Regions from separate parts of the Homo sapiens genome. Here region 1 is linked to region 2. Evidence: promoter capture Hi-C in human tissues and cell types (Jung and others, 2019). All regions are on one chromosome and are shown on one strand. The core of a region is centred on a gene start or on the middle of the fragment in contact, and the rest is flanking DNA. Distances in the headings are between cores, read along the strand shown. Region 1 overlaps PDE4B (phosphodiesterase 4B). Region 2 holds the start of AK4 (adenylate kinase 4).

Region 1 (7,124 bases), core at 3,321-5,820, 760 kb after region 2:
CTTCCTATGGGTAGCCAGTTACGCCAGCACCACTTATTGAATAGGGAGTCCTTTACCATTGCTTATTTTTGTTGACTTTGTTGAAGATTAGATGGTTGTAGATGTGTGGCTTTATTTCTGGTTTCTCTATTCTGTTCCATTGGTATATGTGTCTGTTTTTGTTTGGGTACCATGTTGTTTTAGTTACTATAGCCTTATAGTATAGTTTGAAGTCAGGAGCTATGATACCTCCAGCTTTGTTCTTGTTTGGGATTGCTTTCACTATCTGGGCTCTTTTTTTAATTTCACACGAATTTTAGAATAGTTTTATTCTAATTCTGTGAAAAATGATGTTAGTTTGACAGGAATAGCACTGAATTTATAGATTGCTTTGGGCATTATGGGCATTTTAATGATAGTGGTTTCTCAAATCTATGAGCATGGAATGTTTCTCCATTTGTTTGTGTCATCTGTGATTTCTTTCAGCAATGTTTTAGAGTTTTCCTTCTAAAGATATTTCACCTCCTTGGTTAGGTGTATTCCTAGGTATGTTACATTTTTGCATGACTATTGTGAATGAGATTACATTCTTGATTTGGCTCTCAGATTGAATGTTATTGGTGTATAGAAATGCTACTAATTTTTGTACACTGATCTTGTATCCTGAAACTTTACTGAAGTCATTTATGAGTTCTAGGAACCTTTTAGTGGAGTCCTTAGGGTTTTCTCTGTATATACTCATATTGTCAGCGAAGATAGACAATTTGACTTTTTTTCCTATTTGGATAACTTTTATTTCTTTCTTTTGCCTGATTGCTCTGGCTAGGACTTCCAGTACAATGTTGAATAAGAGTAGTGAGAGTGGGAATCCTTGTCTTGCTTCTGTTCTTAAGGGGAGTGCTTCCAGCTTTTGCCCATTCAGTATGCTGTTGGCTGTGGGTTTTTCATACATGGCTCTTATTATTTTGAGGGTATGTTTCTTTGATGCCTAATATGTTGAGAGTTTTTTCATGAAGGGATGTTGGATTTTATTTAAAGCTTTTTCTGCATCATTGAAATGATTATATGGTTTTTGTTTTCAATTCTGTTTATGTGATGAATCACATTTATTGATTTGCATATTATGAATTAACCTTGCATCCCAGGAATAAAGCCTACTGGATCATGATGAATTAACTTTCTGATGTGCTTCTGAATTCAGTTTGCTATATTTTGTTGAAGATTTTTGCATATATGTTAATTAGGCATATTTCTGTAGTTTTATTGTTGTGCCTTTGCCAGATTTTGGTATCAGGGTTATGTTGGCTTCATAGAATGAATTAGGGAGAAGTGCTCTTCTTGTACATTTGGTAAAATTTGTCTGTGAGTCCATCTGGCCCAGGGCTTTTTTTGATTGGTAAGTTGTTTTATTATTACTGATTCAATTTCAAAACTTGATATTGGTCTATTCAGAGTTTCAATTTATTTCTGATTCAATTTTGAATTTGATATTGGTCTGTTTGAAGTTTCAATTTCTTTCTGATTCAATCTTGAGAGGTTGTGTGTTTCTTTGTTAATTTAGCTAGTGTTCTATTCATCTTGTTTATCTTTTCAAAGAAACAATTTTTGGTTTCTTTGGATGGATTTATGAGTCTCAGTTTCATTTAGTTCTGCTCTGATTTGAGTTATGTTTTTTCTTCTGATGGCTTTGGGATTAGTATGTTCTTATTTTTCTAGTCCCTCTAGGTGTCATCTTAGATCATTGATTTGAGATCTTTTTAACTTCTTGGTTTAGGTGTTTAGCACTATAAACTTTTAACATTGCTTCTGCTGCATCCCAGAGATTTTGTATGTGTCTCTATTTTCATTTATTTCAAGAAATTTTTTTACTTCTGCCTTAATTTTTTTTATTTACCCAAAAGTTATTCAGGAGCAAGTTGTTTAATTTCCATGTCATTGTGTGGTTTTGAGAGATCTTCATGGTATTGACTTTTATTTTTATTCCAATGTGGACTGAGAGTATGGTGGGTATGATCTTGATTTTCTTGAACTTATTGAGACTTAATTTATGGATGAGTCTGTGGTTGATCTTAGAGTAGCATGCAATGTTTTAACACTTTCTTATATTGATTATGTGTTATTGAAGCCATATCAGAAATGTATGCAACAAATAATTGTTTTGCCAATAGAAATGGAAGATTAGAAGGATCAAATGACTTGTTAATGATTTCATAGTCACTAATTGAGCTCTTATTGGTAGCTAAGTATCAGTGATAAGAAGTTTTGTTTATGAATCAACTACTTTCCTTCATCTTCCTGATAAAATTCCACTTACCTTACAAAAGCACAGTTCAGATTTACTTTCTTGATGAAGCCTTCCCTGGTCCTCCTAGGCAGACTTACATAACTTTCCTCTAAGTTATTGTCACACCTTGTAAAGCATCTCTGTCATATAACTGATTGTATCAGTTGTGCATTACGATTGTGATGATACTCTACTTAGATTCAACAGTCCTTGAGGACAGAAGTCATACTGTTTCATCTATGATTCCTCAATGCCTATACAGTACACAGCCCTCAGTAATGCTCAATAAATTGTTGTTGGATACATGAATGAATAAATGCCCAAGTACATGACTATATGAATTCATAAATAAGATTTTGGTGGGTGCAGAAGTATATTTTTTGGTTTTAGAATGCTTTCCAATATATAAATAAGCTTTTGCTGAAACAAAACCAAAACTAAACAAAACAACCCTTTAATTTAGAGTCTGCAGATATAGGCACTGTAGTGGAACAAACTGTGGACCAAAAGCCAAGTTATGCAACCAACTAGGTGAATGACAGGTCAGCTTTTATGGATCTCTATATTTTATCTGTAAAATAAGGGAATCATGGTATGGCAAACATTACAAAGGTGGTATTTTAATAAGTAAAAGTTGAAAATCACTGCTCTAAGACATTTTATGGAAGTGGGTATAATAAGCACTACTGTAGTGGTTTTCAAGCTTTTCTTTTTAAGTGGCAGAACTTCTTGTCAAGTAAAATCTTACACAGAGTTCCAGAATGTAAAATAGTTAAAAATTAGATGTTGTAGCTGCTAAGTCTCTTTGTCCTCTAATATTTGTTCCTTCTGGCCTCTCATTTCCTGCATATCAAATGTATTAGGTGCTTGTCAAATTTCATGGATGAGTCCATTCTTAGGGCAAAGCTTAATTTCTCATCTTTAAAAATAAATATAGCCTGGGCAATATGGCGAAACCCATCTCTACAAAATATGCACACACACATGCACACACACACACACACACACACACTAGCCAGGTGTGGGAGTGTGCATCTGTAGTCCCTGCTCATTTGAGAGGCTGATGTCGGAGAATCTGTTGAGCCCACGAGGTTGAGGCTGCAGTGAGCCATGGTCGTGCCTGGGCAATAGAGCAAGAGCCTGTCTCAAAATAATTTTTAAAAAATTTAAAAAAACAAAAATAAATAAGGAAATGATAGTTTCTAAATATGAAGACACTTAAAGACCAATAAAAATGTATTTCTATGTTCCTTTATGTTCTATCAAAACAATATTATGTGGCATTCTAGTATTACCACATGAGTTTCAGCCTTCTGCTTTTGAAATTGTTTCTGTTTACATGCTTATTTTTCGTATGTCCACATAGACCTGAATCCCCTGACATTTTAATAGAGCTGGGACAGACAGGCCCAAATTGGATGTTGCTTCTAGGTAGGGAATCACTGGCAGACTTCATATCCAATTATATTTCAGTTAAGCCAGTAAATATTAGGCCATTAATTCATTTGAAGTCCTGGAAAGATTTCTCACATTTTTGTTATCTTCCTCTTATGAAGTCTGTAATGATGTAGTATTTATATTTCTGAGAAAGGAATGCACAGAAATTTTGTGTGCTTGCTTGCTTAAAACAAGAATGAACTATTGCCCTTTGTTGTTTCAGTGGTCTTCCCAAGAAAGGAAAAAAAGTTACTTGATGAAGAGTGTCTGGGGTCTTTGAGTCTACATAGAAGACTTACACCAAATTACTGTCTGTGTCCCATATACCCCATGAAACATGTTTGAACAGCACTGTACAGGTGGACAATTTTTTGAAGTCTAGAGACATAGCACTTGTGAATGAATGTCATGAGTCTTCTGTATTAACTTAAAAAAAATTTAGTATTGGATCAAAGTCTAATTTAGAAGAAAAAATACTTGGTGAATTCTTGTTGAAACATAAGATAAAACAGAGACAAATTATTATGCTTTTTAAGTTATGTTTTAGATATACAGTTTTATACACACAATTTACGTTTTCCAATTTAATGTAAATTCCTATGAGATTACATGAAAGAGTAGCTGTTCATAGGCTCCATATGTTCTGCCAACTGCATATCTCTCCTTTATGTTTCATCATTAAAAAAATCTTCTGATTCCTTTCTTGTTCTGAAATACTACTTTTATTCCCAATTATCCTGTTTCTTGGCCCTGACCCATCCTATTTGCTGCTTGTTCTCTGATAAACAATGCTTATTTGCTGCTTCCAAGTGGCAGCAGACGTAATGGTTAATTTCATGAGCTCTGCAGGCATAGTGCCTGGGTGTGAATCCTGTCTCTCTGCCTTTTCCTAGATTAGTGAGCTTAGATGAGTCATTCACCCTTTCTGGGCCTCAGAATTCTCCCCTGCAAAATGGAGATAAAAATAGTTGTGAGAATTACATGAGATGATAGATTTAGGGACTATAGAATAGTGCCTGCCATAAAGTTATTCATATCTCTGTCAGAAGAGTAGGAATATGTATCCTGTCAATATAGCTGACATTTGCAGTTTACCAGGCATTCTGATTCTATTTCCTGCCCCCTCCTATCTGCTGCTTTTGGATTATCACACTTTCAGGGAATCTAGCAAGAGGCCTCAAGCCTATCTAGTCTACTCATTCAAACATTTTCCAGCAAATATTTATTGCTTGGCACAAGAGATATAGTGGTTGGCAGTATTCTCTATGAGCTTCTGGGAGGCATAAACCTATTCATTCATACAAACAAATATGTAATTGTGAAAAATACTGTGAATAGAAAAATAATGTGATAATACCTTCTTACAGGTAGGGGAAGTCCATAAAGGCTTTTCTGAACAAATGACATCAAAGCTGAAGGCTGAAGAATGGGTTAGCCCGGCAAAGTTGAAGACATGTTATAGTGTAGGAAAAGTTTGGAGACAAGAAGGGCATGCTGGATACACTCTACATCCAGTCGAACTAAAGCTAAATGAGTTACAGGGGAGAGTGATGTGGCATAAGCATAAGGTGGGGAAGCAAGTGGAAGCAAAAATAGGAAGTTGAGGTTTAAAAGTCAAGCAGGGACCAGATCTGTAGGGACTTGTATGATTAATCTTCATATTAAGGGTTTTGCTTTATCCTAAAAATTACAGAAAGCATGAAGAATGCAAAGCTGGGGATTAATATAAGGAATTTTGCATTTTTAAAAGATCACACTGGAGAATAGAGAGAGGGGGAGTGGAAGGGCTTCTCTCTTTGTTTCTTAGTTACAATACCTGGAAAAGGACAGTAGCCTCCTCAATGAAGCTTTCCTTGATAACATTTTGCCCATAGAGGTGGCTTCACTCATTTTTTCACCTAATGAACCCATGATCTGTTGCACTTCTCACACTGCACTGTGAACCTGACCCAGGCCAAGGTGTTCAGTATTGTAGGATGAATAAGCGTTGATTCTCCTCTCCTAAGATGAGACAGGGGCATTTTAAGGCCAAGGACTATGTATATTCGTCTTTGTATTATCCACGGCATCTAGCAAGTCCCTACCACATGTTGGGCTCTCAATCTTTTGTTGATGTTGTTGTTGAGAAATCAGATGAAAAGAAGTGGTTTTTCATGATGGATGGAAATGGGGGTTTTGGATCATGGATGCAATTTAATTTTTTATACTCTCATTGAAAGTTGGTAATATTAATTGAAATCCTAGAGTGGCTGTTTGATAAATACCTTTGAGGGTAGCATTAGAAGATCTAAATTTGAGCATGAGCAGATGCCCAGCAAATATTAAATGAATTGAATGTGTTTCAGCCATACTTGCCTATTACATCTGTTTGTAGATCTTCTGTGGTTTATTTTAGGAGACGGAAAAAATTCTCTAATCCATCCTAAACCTCCACTAATGCCATCTTCACTTTGGCACAGTGATAACTCAGAGATGAAAACTCTCAGGTGTGGAGAGAGCTTGCAATACCAGGTTATTAATAGATTTGAATACAGGGATTTTTTTGTTCTTTTCCTTTTGTTTAAGATGAAACAAAAAATGGCTGAAATGAAAGTGATTTATATGCCTCTTTATGGTATTTTAAACCATAAGAGATTAATCAGTGATTACTTTTTTTTAGACTAGGAAAAATAATTCAACTCTTTAAAACTTACCCACTTAGTATATACTGCAGGGAAATTCACTAACAAATTCATTGAGGCATTATTTACACAAGCAGAAACATGGGGTTAGTTTGTCACTTTCTCTCTGTTGTGTTATTGTTGAACATTAGCATTCAGCTCAGCAAATTGAATATTAAGAATTCTTTCTTTTTTTGTCACCATGTGTATTGATTTCAAATGCATGCCCTATTAGTAATTTACAAAGAATGTATTTTATAGTAGAAATTGGTTTAAGTGGTTGTTCAGGAGACATGTTTTACTCAAAGCAGCATTTAGCCTGGCTACTTTGCCTTTTGATGATTATTTAAAAGGATGCCATTATGTCTTTGTTACTTATTGTTCTCTCAGGATAAGCTAATGGTTTAAGTTCATATTAATCCCTAGCACTTTTCAGTTTTTATCTCAAAAGTCATTGATACTTATTACTTAATTGAAAAAACTGATTCTTCTCTCCAAGCAATGTTTGTGTCTAAATATTGAGCAACTTTACAAATAAAATGACCTTTCTTATTACATATACTTTTTTCCCCTCAAATTTACTTGCTCTTTATTTTTTGCATCATACAACTTCAAAAATTTTGGGGAGGAAGCACATTTGCCTCTGTTTATCTCCATCATATTAAAATAAGAAAGCAGCAATAACTGAGTGCAGTAGTCCTGAATTTCTGAAAGTGTGAAGAGAGCAGTAGATGCAAATTAAGGGGGAAAGTCTAATATTTTAT
Region 2 (6,434 bases), core at 802-3,301:
CAAGTGATTCTCTTGCCTCAGCCTCTGGAGTAGTTGGGATTACAGGCGTGCACCACCACACCTGGCTAATCATTCTATTTTTAGTAGAGACGGAGTTTCACCATGTTAGACAGGCTGGTCTCATACTCCTGGCCTCAAGTGATCCGTCTGCCTTGGCCTCCCAAAGTGCTGGGATTACGGGTGTGAGCCACAGCGCCCGGCCACACTGAGACATTTTAGAGGGAGATCAGTCTATGGAACAAATGCTGGCCTGGGGCTGGTGGCCTGGGTGTGCTGTCTGGCCAATTTTGTGCGTGGAGTAAGCAGTGGGGAGAGGCGCTGGGTGTCAGGAAACTATGCCAGGCCCTGCCCTCCACCAACCCCAATCAAAGAGCTGAGAGGGGGTTCTTCTCCACACCATCCCACTACTTGTGTCCCTCACCTTCTCTGAGTCCTGGGTATTGGTGCTGGGAACTCTGCAACAGATTTCCTGAAGGCAGGTGGCCTGTGGAAGGAAGGCAGAGGAGGGGGCCTGCAGAATGCAAAGGTGTACGGAAGGCATCTCTGCGCCCCTGCTGAAGATTTTTCACTTTATCCTGAAGGGAAGACAATATCTGAGGCCGGGAAATAATAAATATTGATTTTCACTTTATCAGTATTCCTGGCAGCTGCACGGAAAATGGAATGGCACAGAAACTGGAGTCTTATGGGCACTTATCCCACTAGTTGGGGTGGGAAATTAAAGGCTGTGTGTAAGGTGGGCACAGATCTAACAGAATGTGGATTGGGATATGCAGGGGAGGGTGGAGTGGGGGAAGACAGACTCCATTTGGACTTGGTGAGTTATAGGTGCAGCACCAGCATAATGCGCATGGAAGTCCTGGAATCATTTACCAAGAAGGTCCTGAACACAGGTGAGGGACATCCCCTTCTTCCCTGTTCCCTAAGGCGCCTAGACTTTGGAGTCAGTCAGTCTTGGGTTCCAGCCTCCCGCTAGGACGCAATTTCTTGAGAGCAGGATTCGATCTGTTGTTCACGGCTAGATCCTAAGCGCCTAGAATAGTTTCTGGCACACAGTAGGCACTCAATAAACATTTGCAGAATGAATCAATGAATGAATGGTCACGCTCCATTCCTCGGCTGTAAACACAATGAAATCACCTAGCCGCAAACTTGGCGCACAGTAGGCGCTCAACAAGTTGTATTTTTCCCTTCCCTTGCAGTAGACCGCGGTCCCCAGGCGACCGCGAAAGAAAAAAAGGGGTTTCTCTACCTCGCGTGGTCTGCACCTCGCTTCGCCCCCGCAGCCCTCGCTGGGTCGCAGGGAGCACGTGGGCCAGGCAGGCTGGGTGGGAGTGGAGTGGAGTGGAGGGGAGGGGGCGGCGGCCAGCGGCTCGCGCGGAGCCGGTCTCCCGGGCTTACGTAAGGCGCGAGTCCCGCGCGGCCGGCCGGGGCTCCGCGACTGGGCGGGCGGAGGCGGCGCCGCCCTGCAGGATCCGGGCTGGAAGCCTCTCGGAGTGCTGCCTCCAGCCAAGGTGTGTGTTTATTTGATTGCTTTTGGTGGCGAGGCGCGGGGCTCGGGCTCGTCGCGCGCCCCATGGCCGGGGAGCGCATCCGCCAACCCCGGGCGGAGGTGGGCCCCTCCGAGCGCGCGCGGGCGGCGGGCAGCGGCGGCAGCTGAGACTCCGGGGGATGTGACAGCCGCCGGGGAGGGGACGAGACGCAGACCACACGTTGCCCACGTGCGAGGACCGGGCAGGGGCTCAGCCCCTAGGCCGCCCGGTGCGTGGGGCGGCGGGGGCTGGCTTTGAGTCACCCCCGCTTGTGCCAGCTTCCCCGGCTCGGCGGAGACTGGCTTGGGGATGCCTGGCCGCCCGGCCCCCTTCTCGGACGCGGCGTGGGGAGCGAGCTGGAGTTAAGGATGAAGGTGGGACTGGCCGGGCCGACCTCTGACCCCTGGAGGCCGAGTCGGCAGGGCGGGGCACGGCGCGCTTCAGCAGCTTTGCGTGGGGGCGAGGAGGTGGAGGAGGGCGAGGAGGTGGAGAAGGGCGGGGAGGTGTAGCGTGGCGCTCAGTCCGCCTGCTACTCGGTCCCGGCGCTGGGCTGAGGGGAGGGGTTGTCTTAAAAGTCTCTCCTTCCCCCTGTAGGGGCGGCCGGCGAGTCCCAGTGAGAGCGGAGGGTGCCAGAGGTAGGGGGCCGAGAAACAAAGTTCCCGGGGCTTCCTCCGGGGCCGCGGTCGGGGCTGCGCGTTTGACCGCCCCCCTCCTCGCGAAGGCAATGGCTTCCAAACTCCTGCGCGCGGTCATCCTCGGGCCGCCCGGCTCGGGCAAGGGCACCGTGTGCCAGAGGATCGCCCAGAACTTTGGTCTCCAGCATCTCTCCAGCGGCCACTTCTTGCGGGAGAACATCAAGGCCAGCACCGGTGAGGGGCTGCGGGGACGAGGGCCGGGGGCGAGCCGCGTTGGGCTGGGGTGAGGCCCTGGAGGGACTGGGGCTCCCGGATCACGGCGCCCTTCCCCCGCCCGCGTGTGGTCGTGCAGGCTCGTACGTGCCGGGGCGCATGCAGCTGGCGGCCGCGCGGCTTAACCGCGCCTGGGGAGGAGGCCGAGGCTCCAGGGGCGGCCGGTGGGAGGTGCCCACGGCTCCTCTCCACCGCTCCTCCTGTCGCGAGGAATAGCCCGAGCCACCCGGCCGAGGGAACGAGAACTAGGCAGGGAAAACCCGGAGCTTCCGTCTCACGCTGCCCTCCTTAAGGCAGAGCCGTCCCCGTACCCCTTAGCCCTGGCCCCCTCCCCCGAGTCCCTAGAGAGCCGCGCGCCCCCTCCCGCGGGAGCCCAGAGGCGGAGCGCCGCCCACCTGTGGCAGTCGGGCGGGGCCGCGCGCCGGGGAACCTGTGGCGCCGGGGGGCTCGCAGCCTCGCGCCTCTCCAGCCCCTCCACGCAGCCTCGGGCCTCGGGGCAGAGCCCTGGGTGGCTTTGAAAGGCCTGTCTGTTCGTTGTCGCCTTCTAAGGTAAACTCTCCCCAGCAACTCCCCCCCCTCCCGAAGCCGCCGGGCCTGGCCGTCAGGAGACTCGGAGGAGACTCGTTCTGATAAATTACATTTTGTAATGCAGCTTTCCTGGAAATGGCTTCTTGAGCTGCCTCCCTTGGCATGAGATGCCTCCTTTGGCTGGCGTGGTGAACTTGGGGATATATAGATCGCCTGATTTCTTAGTCTGACGGGGTTGAGTGCGTCCCTTTCCCCCTCTCCTCCCACTCCACGTTCACACCAGTTCCGAAAGAATTGGCGTTAAAAGGCGAGAGGTAGCGGTTGTGCTGCTGCGAGGCTCTTAACCCTTCTGGGATGGAGATGCTGGTAATTAGCAACTCCTTTATGAAAAGTTGTTCTTCCCAGCAGGGGTCCTTTACTGTCGATGTACTTCTCAAGGATGTCCGGGCTGGTTATTGCCCATCATGGACTAATTATCCGGAGATCTGCATTTCAGAAGCACAGACTGGCTTGAAAAGGAAGGTGGAGGACAGTACCAGAAAACAAAAGGAAAGCTTAAAAGCAAGGAATTAAGAAGTATCTCCAGAATTGTATTCCTTATCTCTTAAGCAGATTGAAAAAGCGGACTTTTACAGGAAACTCTTCCCCCACCCCCATGTCTCAAAAGGAAGAATTATGTGTACCAGATTGCACTTGAGTTTTCTGTTGTGGGTATTGTTACCTCAAGTGCGCCTATTTTGATTTTAATACATTCACATGCATTTTATTCTTGAAATGCTGCGGTTTGAGGGGAGAGCGGCCTGAGGGGGAAGGCTGGCTCTCATCCTAATGGTTTTGTGTTTAGGTTGGGCTTCTTCATGGTAGGGGCATGGAGTCAGTGAAGGAAGACAGTGAGAAGAGATGAGCCCATTCCATAATTCTCTGTACCTGACTAGGAGACTTGTTTCCTTCTATGAGCCCATTCCATAATTCTCTGTACCTTACTTGGTGACTTGTTTCCTTCTGGAATGAAGGGCTTCACACTGTCCATCCTGGGACTGGACTCATAGCCCTTTCCATGTTTAAAGAGAGTGTGATGGGAAGTAGCTTATTTCTGCACTTTCTTAGGGGCTTTGAAAATTTTCCATTTGCTCTTTTCCCTTGTTCTCTCTTTCTCTCTCTCTCTCTTTTTTTTTTTTAACTTTCCTGTGTTCTAAATTTTAGTTTTCATTCTCTTTCAAATGCCTTCATTTCCTCCCCAGTGATCCTCCCTGGAGTGAGAAATGACTATGAAATGTTTAGATTTTCTTTTTTCTGTTGGGAATCAAGCAGCTTTTTGCATGAGCCAATTAAAAAAAAAACTTTATCAAAGAAAGAAGAAAAATAAAGGACAGCAATTTGTTTTGAAAGTGGCTTGTTTCTAGTGAACTTTCGGGTTATCGGATTATTTTTCCCTCTCAGAAGGTCTGAGAATCTTATAGGCTTACTGCCTGGTAAATAAAACATTCCTTTCCACGGTATTTATTTTTCTGTCTGTTACCTGCTGTTTGCTTTTAGCTGATTTCCTGGTGGGAAACACAACCACCCTTCTGTATGTACCCTTTATAATGGAAGGTTTGAAGGAGACGATGAAGCACAACAAAAACCCAGGAAATAGAACCGTGTAGGAATTTGAATTGGAAAGTAGCTCCGGCCATCTGCTCCAGCCTGGATTTGGGCACACTCTTGTCTACATGGCTTTCCTCCTCCTGCAGCCTGGTGAAAAGCTGCTCTTTCAGGAAAGGGCCATTCTGATGTCATTGCTTCTTGGAAGTCTTCCCTCACCTGCTCTGGCAGAATTCATCTCTTTCCTCTGCACATAACTTTTTTTTTTTGAGACGAGTCTCGTTCTGTCACCCACACCGGAGTTCAGTGGCGCTATCTCGGCTCGCTGCAACCTCTGCCTCCCGGGTTCAAGCGATTCTCTTGCTTCAGCCTCCCAAGTAGCTGGGATTACAGGCGTCTGCCACCACGCCCGGCTAATTTTTGTATTTTTCGTAGAGATAGGGTTTCACCATCTCTACGAAGGTTCGAGGTCAGGCTGGTCGCGAACTCGGGACCTTAGATGATCCACCCGTCTTGGCCTCCCAAAGTGCTGGGATTACAAATGTGAGCCACCGCACCTGACCTCCTCTCCTCTGCACATGTCTTATTGATTCTAATGTTGCAGTCATATATCATGCAGTGTAAAAATGCCTGTCTCACACCCAGTAAGATATCTGCTGAGTGGCTGCTGTGCGTCAATGTTCTAGGTGCTGGGGGCAATAGCATTAAGATAATCTTGTGCCTCTTTTATTATTATTTATAGATAGGGGTTTTGCTTTAGTGCCCAGGCTGGTCTCAAACTCTTGGCTCAGTCTCCCAAAATGTTGGGATTACAGGTGTGAGCCACTGCACCTGGCCCATTCTTGGGCCTTTTGTTCTTTCTGCCTATACCATTGTACAATTTCCACTCTGAAACTTGGAGGACAGGGATCAGGCAAAGTACCTAATGTATAAAAGGAGCTTACCGAGTCTGTATTAAAGGCCTGGGTCACAAATTCTAGACAGTACATCTTAGTCCAGAAGTCAAGCAACCTATAGCATAGAGACCATTTTGTTTAATTAGCTCTGATTTATGGTAAAAGTTTGTGCTTAATATGGATCTGAGATTAGCTTCATGGTAGCTGTCACCCATTGGCCCTTCCTACACTGCCTAGAGTGGTACAGGCTGAGGCTTATCAGATACCTCATTTGAAGAGTCACACCCATATCTTTGGCTCAGATTTTCTTTAGCACACTGCAAGAGTAAATAGAAGGGAGAGTTCTCTTAGATTGCCAGGAGTTGGGTCTTACCCTCTGTTGTAAGAAATATTAGCTTTTCTCTGTGTATGTATGGGTATGCACATGTATGTATGAGTATACACACACACACAGGGACTGGCACTCTATTGAGTGAGTCCTACTACAAACTCTGAACAAATTCTGATATTTAATGATAGATTCTTTTATTGGGTCATATCTAAAGGATATGCAAATCCTGTTTTAAAGGTTGGAGAAATAGTGGTATTTTTTAAAACCACATTATACTGGATCTACTATCTCAAGTGCAGGAAAACTGGCACATCTCCATTTGGAAGCATCTTGGAGTTAATTGAGATAAAAGATGTTAAGGAACAAACCTGTTTCTGCACTTGCTATCTCTCTCTCTCTCTCTCTCTCTCTCTCTCTCTCTCTCTCTCTCTATATATATATATATATATATATATTTTTTTTTTTTTTTTTTTTTTTTTTTTTTTTTTTTGAGCCGGAGTCTCACTCTGTCACCCAGGCCGGAGTGCAGTGGCACAGTCTCGGCTCACTGCAGCCTCCGCCTCCCAGGTTCAAGCGATTCTTCTGCCTCAGCCTCCCGAGTAGCTGGGACTACAGGCACACACCACCACGTGTGGCTATTTTTGTATTTTTGGTG

What was found. Contacts are between HindIII fragments. The study calls those that stand out against the background at their distance.
Region 1: a contact is called between a fragment that was not itself captured here and the fragment with the promoter of AK4 in region 2, in 2 of the 25 tissues and cell types used here (mesendoderm cells and thymus).

The regions. Positions count from the first base shown.
Region 1 is chr1:65,900,170-65,907,293 of GRCh38, forward strand. The region is part of intron 1 of PDE4B (phosphodiesterase 4B); the gene reads left to right. Among named protein-coding and RNA genes, the nearest start is that of PDE4B, 110 kb to the left of the region's middle. The HindIII fragment of the contact is 5,447 bases long and covers 1,848-7,124 here.
Region 2 is chr1:65,146,152-65,152,585 of GRCh38, forward strand. It overlaps AK4 (adenylate kinase 4), which reads left to right and starts at 2,052. Exons shown (of 5, transcript NM_013410.4): 1 at 2,052-2,401. The coding sequence starts at 2,257. RefSeq lists silencers at 1,219-1,458, 1,469-1,968, 2,349-2,648, 2,709-2,988 and enhancers at 2,582-3,300, 3,301-4,019, 5,610-5,659. The HindIII fragment of the contact is 12,604 bases long and covers 1-6,434 here.